5 separate regions of the Homo sapiens genome follow, and regions 2, 3, 4 and 5 are each linked to region 1. Evidence: promoter capture Hi-C in human tissues and cell types (Jung and others, 2019). All regions are on one chromosome and are shown on one strand. The core of a region is centred on a gene start or on the middle of the fragment in contact, and the rest is flanking DNA. Distances in the headings are between cores, read along the strand shown.

Evidence for each region. Contacts are between HindIII fragments. The study calls those that stand out against the background at their distance.
Region 2: a contact is called between a fragment that was not itself captured here and the fragment with the promoter of SFRP1 in region 1, in 1 of the 25 tissues and cell types used here (liver).
Region 3: a fragment that was not itself captured here is called in contact with the fragment with the promoter of SFRP1 in region 1 in 1 of the 25 tissues and cell types used here (dorsolateral prefrontal cortex).
Region 4: a contact is called between a fragment that was not itself captured here and the fragment with the promoter of SFRP1 in region 1, in 1 of the 25 tissues and cell types used here (pancreas).
Region 5: a fragment that was not itself captured here is called in contact with the fragment with the promoter of SFRP1 in region 1 in 1 of the 25 tissues and cell types used here (pancreas).

Annotation. Positions count from the first base shown.
Region 1 is chr8:41,308,163-41,310,826 of GRCh38, forward strand. It overlaps SFRP1 (secreted frizzled related protein 1), which reads right to left and starts at 1,311. Exons shown (of 3, transcript NM_003012.5): 1 at 454-1,311. The coding sequence starts at 997. RefSeq lists enhancers at 1-260, 261-1,031. The HindIII fragment of the contact is 13,871 bases long and covers 1-2,664 here.
Region 2 is chr8:39,756,454-39,759,117 of GRCh38, forward strand. The region is part of intron 15 of ADAM2 (ADAM metallopeptidase domain 2); the gene reads right to left. Among named protein-coding and RNA genes, the nearest start is that of ADAM2, 80 kb to the right of the region's middle. The HindIII fragment of the contact is 4,052 bases long and covers 1-2,664 here.
Region 3 is chr8:40,149,033-40,151,696 of GRCh38, forward strand. The region is part of intron 3 of LINC02866 (long intergenic non-protein coding RNA 2866); the gene reads left to right. Among named protein-coding and RNA genes, the nearest start is that of TCIM, 3.1 kb to the right of the region's middle. The HindIII fragment of the contact is 4,092 bases long and covers 1-2,664 here.
Region 4 is chr8:40,208,630-40,211,293 of GRCh38, forward strand. No RefSeq gene overlaps it. Among named protein-coding and RNA genes, the nearest start is that of TCIM, 56 kb to the left of the region's middle. The HindIII fragment of the contact is 4,749 bases long and covers 1-2,664 here.
Region 5 is chr8:40,225,796-40,228,459 of GRCh38, forward strand. No RefSeq gene overlaps it. Among named protein-coding and RNA genes, the nearest start is that of TCIM, 74 kb to the left of the region's middle. The HindIII fragment of the contact is 3,048 bases long and covers 1-2,664 here.

The sequences.
Region 1 (2,664 bases), core at 61-2,560:
CCTTTCTGAACTTTCTACGCTTTGGGTTTTTGTTTTTTCCTCCCGTCTCAGAGGTTAAAAACTTCGATAGGGACTCGGAGTCCTCCTAGAGGAGAGGGAAGCTCCCCTGTTATTTAAAGCGCAAGGCTTTGTTTCAGGTATGGGAAAGGCGAAGTTGGATCCCAGGAAGAGCGGCTCCGGGGACCACAGCGAGTCCCTGCGAGGCCAAGGCGCAGAGCTGCCGCTCCCGGGCCAGCCCCGCCGTGCACCTGGGTCGCGAGGGGCGCTGAGCGATACCTGGGACAGACCAGACGCGCTTAGGAATCACGTGCACAGCATGCGAGCAACCTCGGGCCCTCAGTCCCCAGCACCGGGACCCAGCGGCGGGCGGGCGTAGGGTGGCGCGGGTTCTCCTGCAGCTCCGGCCGGGGGATGGAGGGGGCGGCTCGCGCACGTGGGAGGAGGCAGCCTTACCTTGGGGCTTGGAGGCTTCGGTGGCATTGGGCGGCGTCATGGCGATGCAGACGTCCCCCTCGGGGAACTTGTCACACTTAAGCATCTCGGGCCAGTAGAAGCCGAAGAACTGCATGACCGGCTCGCACGAGTCGCGCACGGCCTCGCAGAGCCAGCGACACGGGTAGATGGGCCGGTCCAGGCAGACGGGCGCGAAGAGCGAGCAGAGGAAGACCTGGGTGCCGGCGTGGCAGTTCTTGTTGAGCAGGGGCACCCAGCTGCTGGCCTGCTGCTTCACCTCCGCCATGGTCTCGTGCTCCAGCAGGTTGGGCAGCACCATCTTCTTGTAGCCCACGTTGTGGCACAGCCGCAGGTCCGCGGGGATGTCCACGCACTGAGGTGGCTTGGTGTAGAAGCGCCCGCTCTGGTACGGGCCGATGTCCGACTGGAAGCTCACGTAGTCGTACTCGCTGGCCGAGCCCACGGCCAGAAGCGCCGCGCCCAGCGCCAGCAGCACGCCCAGGGCTGCCCCGCGGCGGCCCCCCTCGCTGCGCCCGATGCCCATGCCGGCTCTGCGCCCTGTTCTCCGCGACGTCGGGGCTGCCTCCGCCGCCTCCCCGCGCGCGTCCTGCCGCAAACTTCCAGGGACCTCCGGGGACAAAAGGCGCAGTCCCCAGCGTTGCCCGGCTCCGCGGCCGCAAGCTGCTGCCCGGTCCCCCCGGCCAGTGGCGGCCCTCGGCCTGCGGTCGGAGGCGGCGCGGGCGGGGAGGCGGCGCTGCGGGCTGGGTGCGCCCCGGCTCCCGGAGGTGCGGCGAGCAGGAAGGCGCGGGGCGGCGGGCGCGCGGCACTGACTCCGGAGGCTGCAGGGCTGGAGTGCGCGGGGCTCCTACGGCCGAGCCCTCGGAGCCGCCCCGCGCAGCCAATCAGCTCCCGGCGGGGCGAGCCGCACTCGTTACCACGTCCGTCACCGGCGCGGGAGCCAATCGCCTCCCTCGCGAGCGGGTTCGGTTTACTAGAACCAGACGCGGCTCAACACCCCTTAAAAAACAAAACCAAAAATACATAAATAAAAGGGGGAGGAGGAAAGAGACAAGGGGAGAAAAAGAAGGGGAATGGATCACGGCGTGGGGTGGAGAGAGACCAGGGCGGACGCTGTAATTAACTCGCATTGGCTTGCAGAGAAGCGGGGAGCCTGGATCATACTTGCAAACCCATGAAATTATGAAGACTTTTTTTTTTTGAGACAGTTTCGCTCTTGTTGCCTAAGCTGGAGTGCAATGGCGCTATCTCCGCTGACTGCAACCTCCGCCTCCCGGGTTCAAGCGATTCTCCTGCCTCAGCCTCCCGAGTAGCTGGGATTACAGCCGCGTGCCACCATGCCCCCGCTAATTTTTTGTATTTTTAGTAGAGACGGGGTTTCACCATGTTAGCCAGGCTGGTCTCGAACTCCTGACCTCAGGTGATGCTCCTGCCTTGGCCTCCCAAACTTTTTTTTTCTTTTTCTTTACACTGCTTCCTAATTTCAACCAACAGCCCTTTAGACTAGCGGCTCCTCTCCTCGGTTCTCTAGCTGCGGTGCAGACAGGTGGTTTCCCAACTAACAGGGGTTCAGGAAGGCTGAAGCGAGGGAGGTCTGCTTGTAAATACCCAGTGGGCCTGGCTGGGCTCCCTGGAAGGCGAGGCGAAGGCGCAGTTGGAGCTGTTTGCTGTGAGCAGCACCTCTCCAGGTGGGGCCGCCCATGGTGGCCCTCAACACTGGGGCAGTGGGTGGACTTTGCCCGGTGTGGCGGCAGGAAGAGCTGCTAGCAACGGTATTAGCTCTGGGAGGACACTTTTTTAAATATATAATATATATTTAAATAGAAAAACCCTACTCAAGTCCTAGCCCGGGCGACAGCACATCTGTGTGTTTGTGGTGTGGAAAGCCAAAACATTAAAAACACATGTGCACTTATCAGCGTGGCTGGTGTAAATACCAAGTCCATCACTCAGGCACACATGCTAAGGTTAGACCCAGTCCAGGAACTTCAAGTTAAAATCAAGGGTCCCCACTAGGGCAGACGCCAAGAGGACGGTATCAGCACAACAGCTCGGCCCCCAGGAACAGAAGTCTCTCTGCCACCTTCTACCTCGAATTCCTGAGAATTCTTCGTAGGTTTCAAACATTCCCCTGAGAGGGAGGGTTAAGCTCTGGAGAGCTGGGAGTGAGACCCGGACTATCCCGGGACAGAA
Region 2 (2,664 bases), core at 121-2,620, 1.6 Mb before region 1:
ATTTTTATTTGGCCCTTGCATCCTGTTTGGAATCTTAAATGCTACCACATGACCATTGCTACATCAGAAGATTCAGGAAACCATGGAGGCAGAGAGACTAACCCTAGATCAACTGCATATGTTGAGATAGACAACATATGTTATCTAAATAGCCTCCTAATCAGCAAAATCTCAGCAGTGATGAAAATCTAAATGTCTTCAAGCAATTTTCTATGGCCTGAACTTTTCTCCCTTTGGCCAAAAGAAGACAACGAAAATGGGCAACCCAGCCCCTGAAGTGGCCAGGAGTCATCGAGGAAGGACTTGGAGTTGATAAAAGCTGTTCTGCACTCATAGTGCACACACCAGTTAAACATTAAGTAATTTCATAGAACATCAACCTTAGGCAAAGCCATTCTGTGATCATGAAAGATTAAGAAAATAAGCAAGCTCACTTCATAGATCATGTATGAACACAGAGGAGAAACAAACATTGTCCAAGCCACAGTTACTGGACATTCCCAGGATTCAACTAATATGTGTGACTATTGCTTCTTTAGCAATTACAACTTTAGCTTCACTTTAGTCTTCCCTCTTCATATATAAGATTAAGATATACAATCATACAATTATTAATATCTCTACTTTAAAACATCTAATTTACAGCAAAGGTCTATTTCCTGAAACCTTCCTAAAATCACCTAACCCAAGTCCAAATCTCTAGAACTGGCATACTCCACAATTTCTCATGATGCGATTTCTCACCACTCAACATGTAAAAAAACCCAACTTGCTCAACTACGGCTGCCTTCTTGGTGGTCTTTGGCTGGAAGGCATTGTAGTAAGGTAGAACTGTAATCTGAAACACACATGCTCACACTTTGAAGACACCGGAATGTAACCAGAAAGGAAAGGACTATATAACTGAGCTTTAAGAATGGGAACTGCAGCACCAGATATTCTGTAGATGTGGCTTTGTTTAATAATTTATGAAAGCACATCCAAGGTTGAAGATTCTTAGCTTGAATAATCCCAGGACATTATTAAAATACGGGTCTAATGTCAGTTAGTTGACTGGAAACTTAGACTGAGAACTGAAATCTGAATATAAATTTCAGGTTTATATTCAGCCTGAAACCTGGATGACTACTGAACTAATTAAGCTTGTGTGGTGAAGAATCCAGGGAGCACATAAAAAGCATCTCCCAGAGGCATAACGAAATGAACAATGTTTTCAGCTCCTGCTCAGAGACAGGTTTGCTTTATAGTTTGAGTCCAGCTATGTTAAATCCTTTCCATTACAAAATTCTAGCCTTCAGAAAAGCAAAAGTGAATGCAATTTCCGTTATGTATTAGTCATATTATATGATACAAAGTTAAGAAATATGCTAAACACACATAGAAAAAGTAAAATATAACATAGAGGGCAAATAAATTACTAGATACCAACACCAATACTACACAGACATTTCATTCAGCAGAGAAGCCCTTTAATGCAGCTTATATAAAAAGGATCAATGATGAAAAGGAAAATATAGTCATAATAGCTAGAATTTTCTTTCAGTAAGTATATGCTTTAGCAATTATAAAGCAAATTTCTGTGCATTTGGAACTTGAGTATATGAGGAAGCAACTTGTATACTAAAATGTACTTTATGGCACTTAATTGGAATTAGAATTATCACTAAGTTCATGTCTTAAATTCAGAGATTTACATGAATGAATATGTGATACATGTATGTGCATATATGAAATGCATGTTCTAGCTCCATTGACTGACAGGCTTGAGAGGTAATGAGAAGAAAAAAAAAGAAATAAAGGGCCACCATATCTGAAATTTACTCTCAAATATTTCAGAAAAGCAATTATAAAGCAATATATACATATAGTTACAAAACTGTATGTGTTTATAATGTGTGTATTTGTATATTTGTGTGTATATTATATGTAATGAAAGAGAGAGACAGAGACAGAGACAAAGAGATAGAAAATGATAAGCCAAATGTGTTAAAATGCTAAAATTTGGAAAATTTGAAGGGTATACAGGAATTATTTGCACTATTATTCTAACTTTTATATGTCTGAAATTGTTTCCAAATAAAAACATTAAAAAATAAAAAGTCAGTAAAAATAAAAAAAATTTAAAAAAAAAAGAAATAGTAGACATGCACACAGCTGGTGCTTAGGTATTTATTTTCAAATACCATCTTCTAAGAAAAGGAACCAAGGCTCCTTGGATGAATAGCTGAATCCAGAGCAGAAGTAGAAGAAGCTCAATGCAACCTACAACATCTTTTCTTGTGCTAGAAAAATTTGGAAGTTATTAAAAAGTCCTACAGACTTTTGAAAAGGACACATTAACCAGCTCAAAGGGATTCCCAATAGTCAAAATTAAGAGAATTTGAGAAAGTATCAAAATAATGATAGTAATGTATTTTATCCTATTAAATAAAATAACAATTATTGTGTCTAAACTGATATATATATAGATAAGTAAATAAAAATATAGAAGTGACTACTTCTTCCTACAGTACATTTCTAGATAATAAAGGCAAAGTCAATAATACAGTTAGAAAATCACTAATGGATTTTAAAACTAGTTAGTTAAAGTTTGAGGAGAAACAGAATATGCCCAGGGTCTCAATATAACTCCTCCAAAATTACATATTAAACCCAAAAGGAAAA
Region 3 (2,664 bases), core at 91-2,590, 1.2 Mb before region 1:
AGTATATTATTTTCCCATTACTGCTGTAAAAAACTGACATGAATTTAGTGAGTTATAATAAACACAAATTTATTATCTCATAGTTTAGAATGCCAGATGTCTAAAATGGGTCTGCAGGAATCTGTTCTTTCTGGAGGATCTAGGCAAGAATCTGTTTCCTTGCCTGTTCCAGTTTCTAACTGTTGTCCACATTCCTTGGAGCACGGCTCCTTCCTCCATCTTCAAAGACAATAACCCAGCATCTTCTCTCCTTTCTGACCTTCTGACTCCTTCTTATAAGAACTCATGATTACATGGGCTGCCCCGGATAATCCAAGCTAAATCTCCACATCTGAAGATGTTTAACTTGTTCATACCTGCAAAAGCTCTTTTGCTATTTAAAGTTCCCTTTTGCTTATATTCATAAATTTCAGGGATTAAAACATGGACCTCTTATGGAGCCATCATTCCATTTATTACATCATTCCATTTATTGCCTCAGTTCTCTTATCTTTGATTTAAGATCTGCAATAGTTCCTATTGCAAAGGGTCGTTATGAGAATTAAATATAATTGCATATGCTGTCATTTAACATTACTATAAAAACAATCCTTTTATTAAGTGACCTTGGAACTTTGAACATAGTGAGAAAGGTAGATCCAATCCCTGCTCTTGATAGGGCCTTTAAATGAGAATCCCCCAAATAAAGATATGTTTGCAAACTCTAATACAAAGTGCTAAGGAAGAGTAATGGGTATGTTGGCAAGAATTAGGAAAGCCTCTCTGAGAAAGTAGCTTTTAGTTGAGATTGTATGAATAACCAGGAATTACCTACCCGAGACAAAAAGTATAAAAGAACATTCCAGAAAAAGGAAAAAGATGTGCAAATCCTCACTACAGGAATGAATGTGGTGTATCCAAGGAATCTGAAGGCATAAAGACATAGCAGGTCATGTTCAAAGAGGTCATGCAAAGTTTACTTCAAGAGTGGTTCAATCAGAGTGCTTACTAGGAAATATGGCTCTGGGTGTTGTGTAGGGAATTTGGGGCAAGAGGCAAATCAGGAGAGCCAGGAAAGTGAGTTACTTGATCTTAGTCTAGCAAGAGATGATACAGTATTTTAGGCTGGGGTCCCTAGGAAGCAAACTCTGAGATGCAGATCAGCAGTCAGGTGACTGGTTGTAGAGTGCTGTTGGGATCAATGCCTGCAGATGGGAAAGATGCAGGATTGGACAGAGGGAGATCTCAGCCTACCCTGAAAGGTGCTCTGAAGTTTAGATGACCCCTTAGAGTTGATACGGACAAGGAGAGCAGGATTTTACACCACCATGTGGATCAGTCACTGGATATAGCTGCACCTGGAAGGGAAAAAGGGTACCCTTAGGTGACATAAACTTCTTCAGTAGTATCAGTCCCTGAAGCGGGCTGATAGCTAAGCACCTGGGAAAATCTTAAAGGGAATTCTGGATCATGCATCACAGCATCCACCATATGAAGGGCTGGCATAAATGGCAATGAAAATAGAGAGAAAGTAGATGGCTTTGGGAACATTTTCTAGATAGAACTGACAGAACTTGGCCATAGATTATGTGTAGGGAGAGAAAGAAAAGGAGTTATTAAGGATCATAGCCAGGTTTATTTTATAACAGAATGAATATGTATAACATATTTTTATATATTTGTATTGATTAGTTAGATGAATAAATGAGTTTAACACTTCAGAGGCCAGGGCTAGGTAGGGATCAAAATTTAGGAGTAATCAATAAGTAGGGTATCAGAAAAAGCATGAGCCCACATAAGAATCACTTCAAGAAAGAACATAGTATAAGAAGGTTGAGGCCAGGCACAGTGGCTCACGCCTGTAATCCCAGCACTTTGGGAGGCCGAGGCGAGTGGATCACCTGAGGTCAGGAGTTCGAGACCAGCCTGCCCAACATGGAGAAACCCCATCTCTACTAAAAAAAAAATACAAAATTAGCTTGGCATGGTGGTTCATGCCTGTAATCCCAGCTACACGGGAGGTTGAGGCAGGAGAGTCACTTGAACCAGGAGGCGGAGGTTGTGGTGAGCAGAGATCACGCCATTGCACTCCAGCCTGGGCAACAAGAGCAAAACTCCGTCTCAAAAAAAAAAAAAAAAAAAAAAAAAAAAAGAACTTTGATAAATCCTTGAGTTATGACAATAATTAAGAGAGGTTTTGTGAATCTCTTGTCCTCTGCTTGGCACATAATAAAAGCTCAGTAAATCCTTGTTGCCATAATAATAATTTTTTTTTAAATTTAGCAAGGGAAACGATGCTGCCACAAAGGTGTGCTATATAGGCCTGTAAATCCATAGACATAGACAGCAGAACAAAGGGCTCTTCTGGAACCCTTGGAAAAACTGGAACACACATGAGCTGCATGGTTGGAGAGTTGACCACTGGCACACCTGGAAATGTCTTTCAAGGAGGCATCCTTCAGAAGAGATCAGCCTGGGCTCCTGTTTGTTATTCATTCCTCGCATCTAATTTTTCAGCAATCGTCTTAGCTTTACCTTCACAATATGCCAGAATTGGATCAGTTCTCACTACCTCCACATTCTCCCTAGTGGAAGCCTTCATCCTCTCTTTCTTGGATTATTGAACATCTCCTGACTAGTCTTCCTGCTCCCCACTCCCTGCTTGCTTCCCTGAAATCTATTCTC
Region 4 (2,664 bases), core at 109-2,608, 1.1 Mb before region 1:
GTAGATTTTTGACATGGACAGATGACCACAGCATGGAATTGGCCTAGGGTGGGGCTTGGCCATGGGTCACTTTTCAAAGCTCCTGAGCAATGCTGGCACCCATTCATGGTTGTCCGCCACTGGGGCAGCAGTTTCGGCCATCTGGTAGGAACAGAGCACAAAGCTCCACCTATATCCCAGCTGCTGGCTAAGGAAAATGAAACTGTTCCAAGTCAGATTTTTTTTTTTCAAGCTCCTCTCTAGACAAAGGAGAAGATAATAAAATAAAAGAGTTAAAACTAGAATATGAGACATTTGGATTGGATATAAGAAGAAACTTGGGGGAAGAAGAGGTTAGGTATTAAAATGTATGACCTCAGGGATATTGTGTCATATCATTTTCTGGAGGGTTTCACAACAGGGATGAATTTCCATCTGTCTTCAAGGTGTTTCTAATGGAATGTCAAGATGATACTGGAGACTATAGCTCATTCTTTTAGACAGGGCTGAATTCTGCACTTATTCATTGAAAATAAATCAAGTTTTTCCCAAGTGTCCTATAATGTCCTAAAAAAGGGCACTAGGCTGGATGAAGGATTTGGGTGTACACATTGTGGCGGGTCCTGTTTGTAGAACTGTGACAGGCAGTAGAGTGTTTGGGGTAACTATGTATCCCCTAAAGCCAACTGCCTGGTTTCAGTTTTTCCACTTATTGATAGATAAACATACTCCTTAACAACCCTATCAGTTTACCTGTAATAGGGATAATGATGATGATGCTGGTGCTACCATCTTCATATAATTATTCTAATATTAGTTAATAGGCTATACTCCAAGAGTTCAATTAGTTCATATATGTAAACTACGTATACCACCCATGGAACATAGCAGATATTTGTATAAATATTTAATTTTTTTCATTAAAAGTGATTTTACGTTATCTGCATCAGAAGATTCATTCAATCCCAATTAATATTTTTACTTGCAAAATTAAAATATACACTCTTTTTTTCCTGTTCCTTAAGCTACAATAAAGTACAACACTTTCTAGGAAGGGCAAAATCTTAGTGCTGGAAGGAAATAATGAAATCTTCCAGAGGAACGGTTTTCAACTGTGGTTGCGTATTAGGGAGCTTTCAAATAATATTTATACCCAGACCCAAATACAAACAAGAGAATCAGGTGTGGAGGTTAGACACCAGTTTTTTTGTTTTTATTTTGTTTTCTTTTTCTGTTTTTGTTATTTACTCAACTTCATTTGTCATTCCAAAGTCTAACAAAGGATTCAAGCCATTGGTCTGGAACCATCTCTTCAAAATGCAGAAATTTCTCTAACCAACCTCTTCTTAATATTTCCATTGACACAGAATGGTATTTCCATTACCTCACATAAAACTGAATAGTCCTTTAAGTGTAATTCATGCTAAGCAAACAATTCAGACTGAACACATTCAATGTTTATTTTCAAATTTGAATTCATCACCTCCTTACGTTGTTGGCAAAAGTGATAAACAAATGATAAATGCCAAATATAATGAAATATTTCTGCAAATTCTGCAACTTTTTACAACCATCACAGTTAAGTGAAATAAAATATTTTCAAAAGCAAATTAAATTCTTTAGTAATAAATAACACAGTTATTATTACTTTGAATAAAATTACATAAAGATGGCATTTCGGTTTTGAAAGCTGTTTAGGAATCTATCTCCACATGATCAATTTCATTTATTTCTTTTTGAATTTATTTTATTTATCCATTACCAGTTGTGCAATAAACTATATAATCAAGAACCAGTGTCAGGCACTGGGCTATAAACCTTAATAAGGGCAAAACCAAAAGCTGGATTCAAAACTCAAAACTGTCAATTTCTTCAACGTGCCATACCTTTCTGTTTCCCCTAAACTATTAATTGTATTGGATATTTGCAGTTAAGCTGATTTTTAAATAGATTTGATATTGTTTGTAACAACTCAGAGCTATAATTCAGGTAAATTAAGGACTTGGTGGGGGAAGATTTTCTGTGGACGTTTTTTAAAAAATGAGTTCTTCTAGCTTATTTAAGATGTGATTTAACTCACCAGACTGTAGTGTGTATACAATTTCTGGAGACATTGATCAAGTAAGCCAGGACCTGCCTGCAACCAAGGCTATGTGTGCTGTGATCATTCTCTAAGTATCAGTGGGGGTTGCACATAGGCTGGTTTAGAGGACACAAATGAGATAAGAACAGGATGCCTAAAGCCTGGATGCCACTTAATTCAATGAGGACAGATCGTCTGAGTCAGTTTGGTTTGGAGGAAGGGCAGAAGTTGACTGTTCTTCGGAAGGACATCCGGAAGGGCGGTCACCAGGGAAACTGCAAATCACAATAACACTGCCACGGGTGCTGTTAAAGATGGTTACTGCAGCCTCCTCAGAAAAGCACTATTACATTTTAATCTCTTTATGGCGAATTATCAGCGGACCAAGGGTCATGAGCACCAGGTAGTAACAGCCCTCATTAATGGATGTTTAATCACTGCTATTTCTCCAGAGCCTTTAGAGTGCAGATTTTAGATCTGGTCTTATTTCTTCTAGATACTATCATTAACACATATCTTAGAAAACTTTTTGTATCCCAGATTTCCTTTGTTCATTTTATTTGCAACGGAACTGGCAGAGACCCATGGAGCCAGAATTAACG
Region 5 (2,664 bases), core at 103-2,602, 1.1 Mb before region 1:
TTGAAAACTGGACATTTTAGATGTATTGTTGCAATGCTGGTATCAGATTCTCCTGTTCCCATAGGTTTGTTGTAGCTGATTTGTTGTTTTTGCTATTGTTTTTCTTGTTTCTGTTTATTCATTTAGTGACTTCCCTGGACTAATTCTGTAGATTTTGTATTCTCAGCAGTGTATGGCTTTTGAGTTGAGTTCTCTAGTCATTTTTTTTTTCTTAAGTTCTTGTTTTTATTTTTAAGTTTGGCTTCCTAGGGGTCACACTGAAATCAATATGTGGTCAGCCAATAATAGATCAGATTTTTTAAAAAAATGCCCTGCCTTTTTATCTCTACCCTTTGCAAGAGGAATCTGTATGAGAAGGCAAGCCATCACACTACAGGCAATTTATGAAACAGCCTTCGCTCTCACTTCCTGCTTGTACATGGCCTCAAAGTCAGCCAGAGGTGAATGACTGGTGCCTTCTCCTTTCCCAGTTTTTTTTTTTCTGGATTTTCCCACTACTTTTTAAACACCCAGAAATATGTGGAAGCTTTTCAGAGTTTCCCATGGTTGTCTAGTTTTCCTGGATTTTCTTTTAAATTCCCAGCCAGCTTGTTGTTTGCCTCAACTGAAATCACAGCCTTTCATCTAAGCAGCTGAGATGCTGCTGGGAAGGAGCTGAGCTGAGTCAAATCACATCACCATTATGCTCAGAGAATAAAGATTTCCCAGGAAGCTGCAAACATGGACAAAATATTGACTGTGTTCTGGAAGTGGTACCTTTACAAAAGATCTAAAAGTGGTCAGCTCTCTCTTGCCTTCATCATTGCTGGCTTTTGTCTACCATGCCACTGAGCTGGAACAGGAAGAACATGTGAATATCTCCAAGTTAAAACTTCACAGAATTCCTTCCATGTAACCCAAATTTAATACTTTTGCTTGGATACATAGTTTTCAGGTTGCTATATGCTTTGGTCAACTGTCGAGTTTTGAGTTGATTGACTTCAATATTTTTGCCTGTACAGTTATGCATTGCTGAATGACAGGAATATATTCTGATAAATATGTAGTTAGGCAATTTTGTCATTGTGAGAATATAGAGTGCACTTATACTAACCTAGATGGTATAGCCTACTACACACCTAGGCTATATGGTATAGTCTATTGCTCCTAAGCTGCAATGCTGTACAGCATGTTACTGTACTGAATACTGTAGGCAATTGTAACACAATGGTAAGCGTTTGTGTATCTAAACACATCTAAATGTAAAAAGAAACAATAAAATCATGGTATTAGAATCTTATAAGACCACTCTCCTATGTGCAGTTTGTTGTTGACCAAAAAATGACTGTATTTTTGTTGTTTTAGAGGGAGAGCAAGTTTGCCATGGTTCTTACTGCCATTACAGAAATTGATCCTTTCTCATACAATTTGCTTTGGCATTTCATTTAATTAATCATTGCTATGTTTTAAATTTTCAGCAGATATACAAGGTATAGCACATTTATAACTTGTTGCTGAACTAGAATCTCAGGGCATAAAACTGCATACAAGGCTACAAGTCTATGCCTTCTCCAGGGATAAGAGTCTAAAACCTATAACCTCTAGATCTGATATATTCACCCTTATGAAGAATCTCTCAGTGATAAAAATATAGGCAGAGGGATAGTAAAAGATGAGTTTCATGAACACTTTGGTGATTGATTGGATCACCAGTCTTCAACTTCCACCCAGATGGTTCCATTTAACTAGTGGTGTGTAACAAACTATCCCCAAAGATAGTGACATAAAATAACAACCATTTTATTAATGTCACAATTTTGTGGGTCAGAAATTCAGCCAGGGCTCAAATGAGCTATACTTCTGCACCACATGGGATAACTAACTCAGTGCTGTTTTGCTGGTGGCCAGTCTGCTACCCATCTGATCCGGGCCACAGTGGCATTATTCACATGCTTGCTGCCTGTGTCAGGTGAGTGGAATGATAGGCTGCCCTGGATCACTCTGTCTTCCTCTCCCTGAAGTCTCAGGATCTCTCCTTATGATCTCTTCTGCAGCATAGTCAGACCTCTTATTTCATGGCTCAGGGCTTCCCTAGAGGGCAAGGCAGAAAGTGATCATCAATTTAAATCAGCCTCAGAATTGGAATAGCATAATTTCCATTGACTCTATTGGTTAAAGCAGTCACAGGAAAGCCCAGGGTAAAGGGAAGATGAAATAGACACTACTTCTAGAAAGGAAGAATGTCGAAGAATGTGGTGACATCTTTGATCTGCCACACAGCCTATCTTTGGTTTGAAAAATGAGATGTAAAGAACTTAGCAATTCTCTGGGCTTGGGACTGAGAACGTCCCTGTGAATCATTAAGGGACTTTGTGGCATCCTTAATAAGCCTGAGAATTTGGTTTCTCCAGTCAAATATTTTTCTGATGCATTGGGCGTGACAATGGCACCAACCTTCTGAGAATTACTAAAGCCTCAGTAACAGTGAGACAAGACCTGCACTTTTCAAAGGTATAAAGAGAAGTAGCCACCTAGCATTGGAAGACATTTCCGAATATGATGTTTTTCAAACTCCCTTTTGAGAATCAGGTACAGTCATTGCTGACACATAGTGTTCTCGTGAATGCTAGTTCTCCTTTCCTGCTGGACCACCTAGCAGCAAACTCTCCCTTGCTCAGCTTCTAG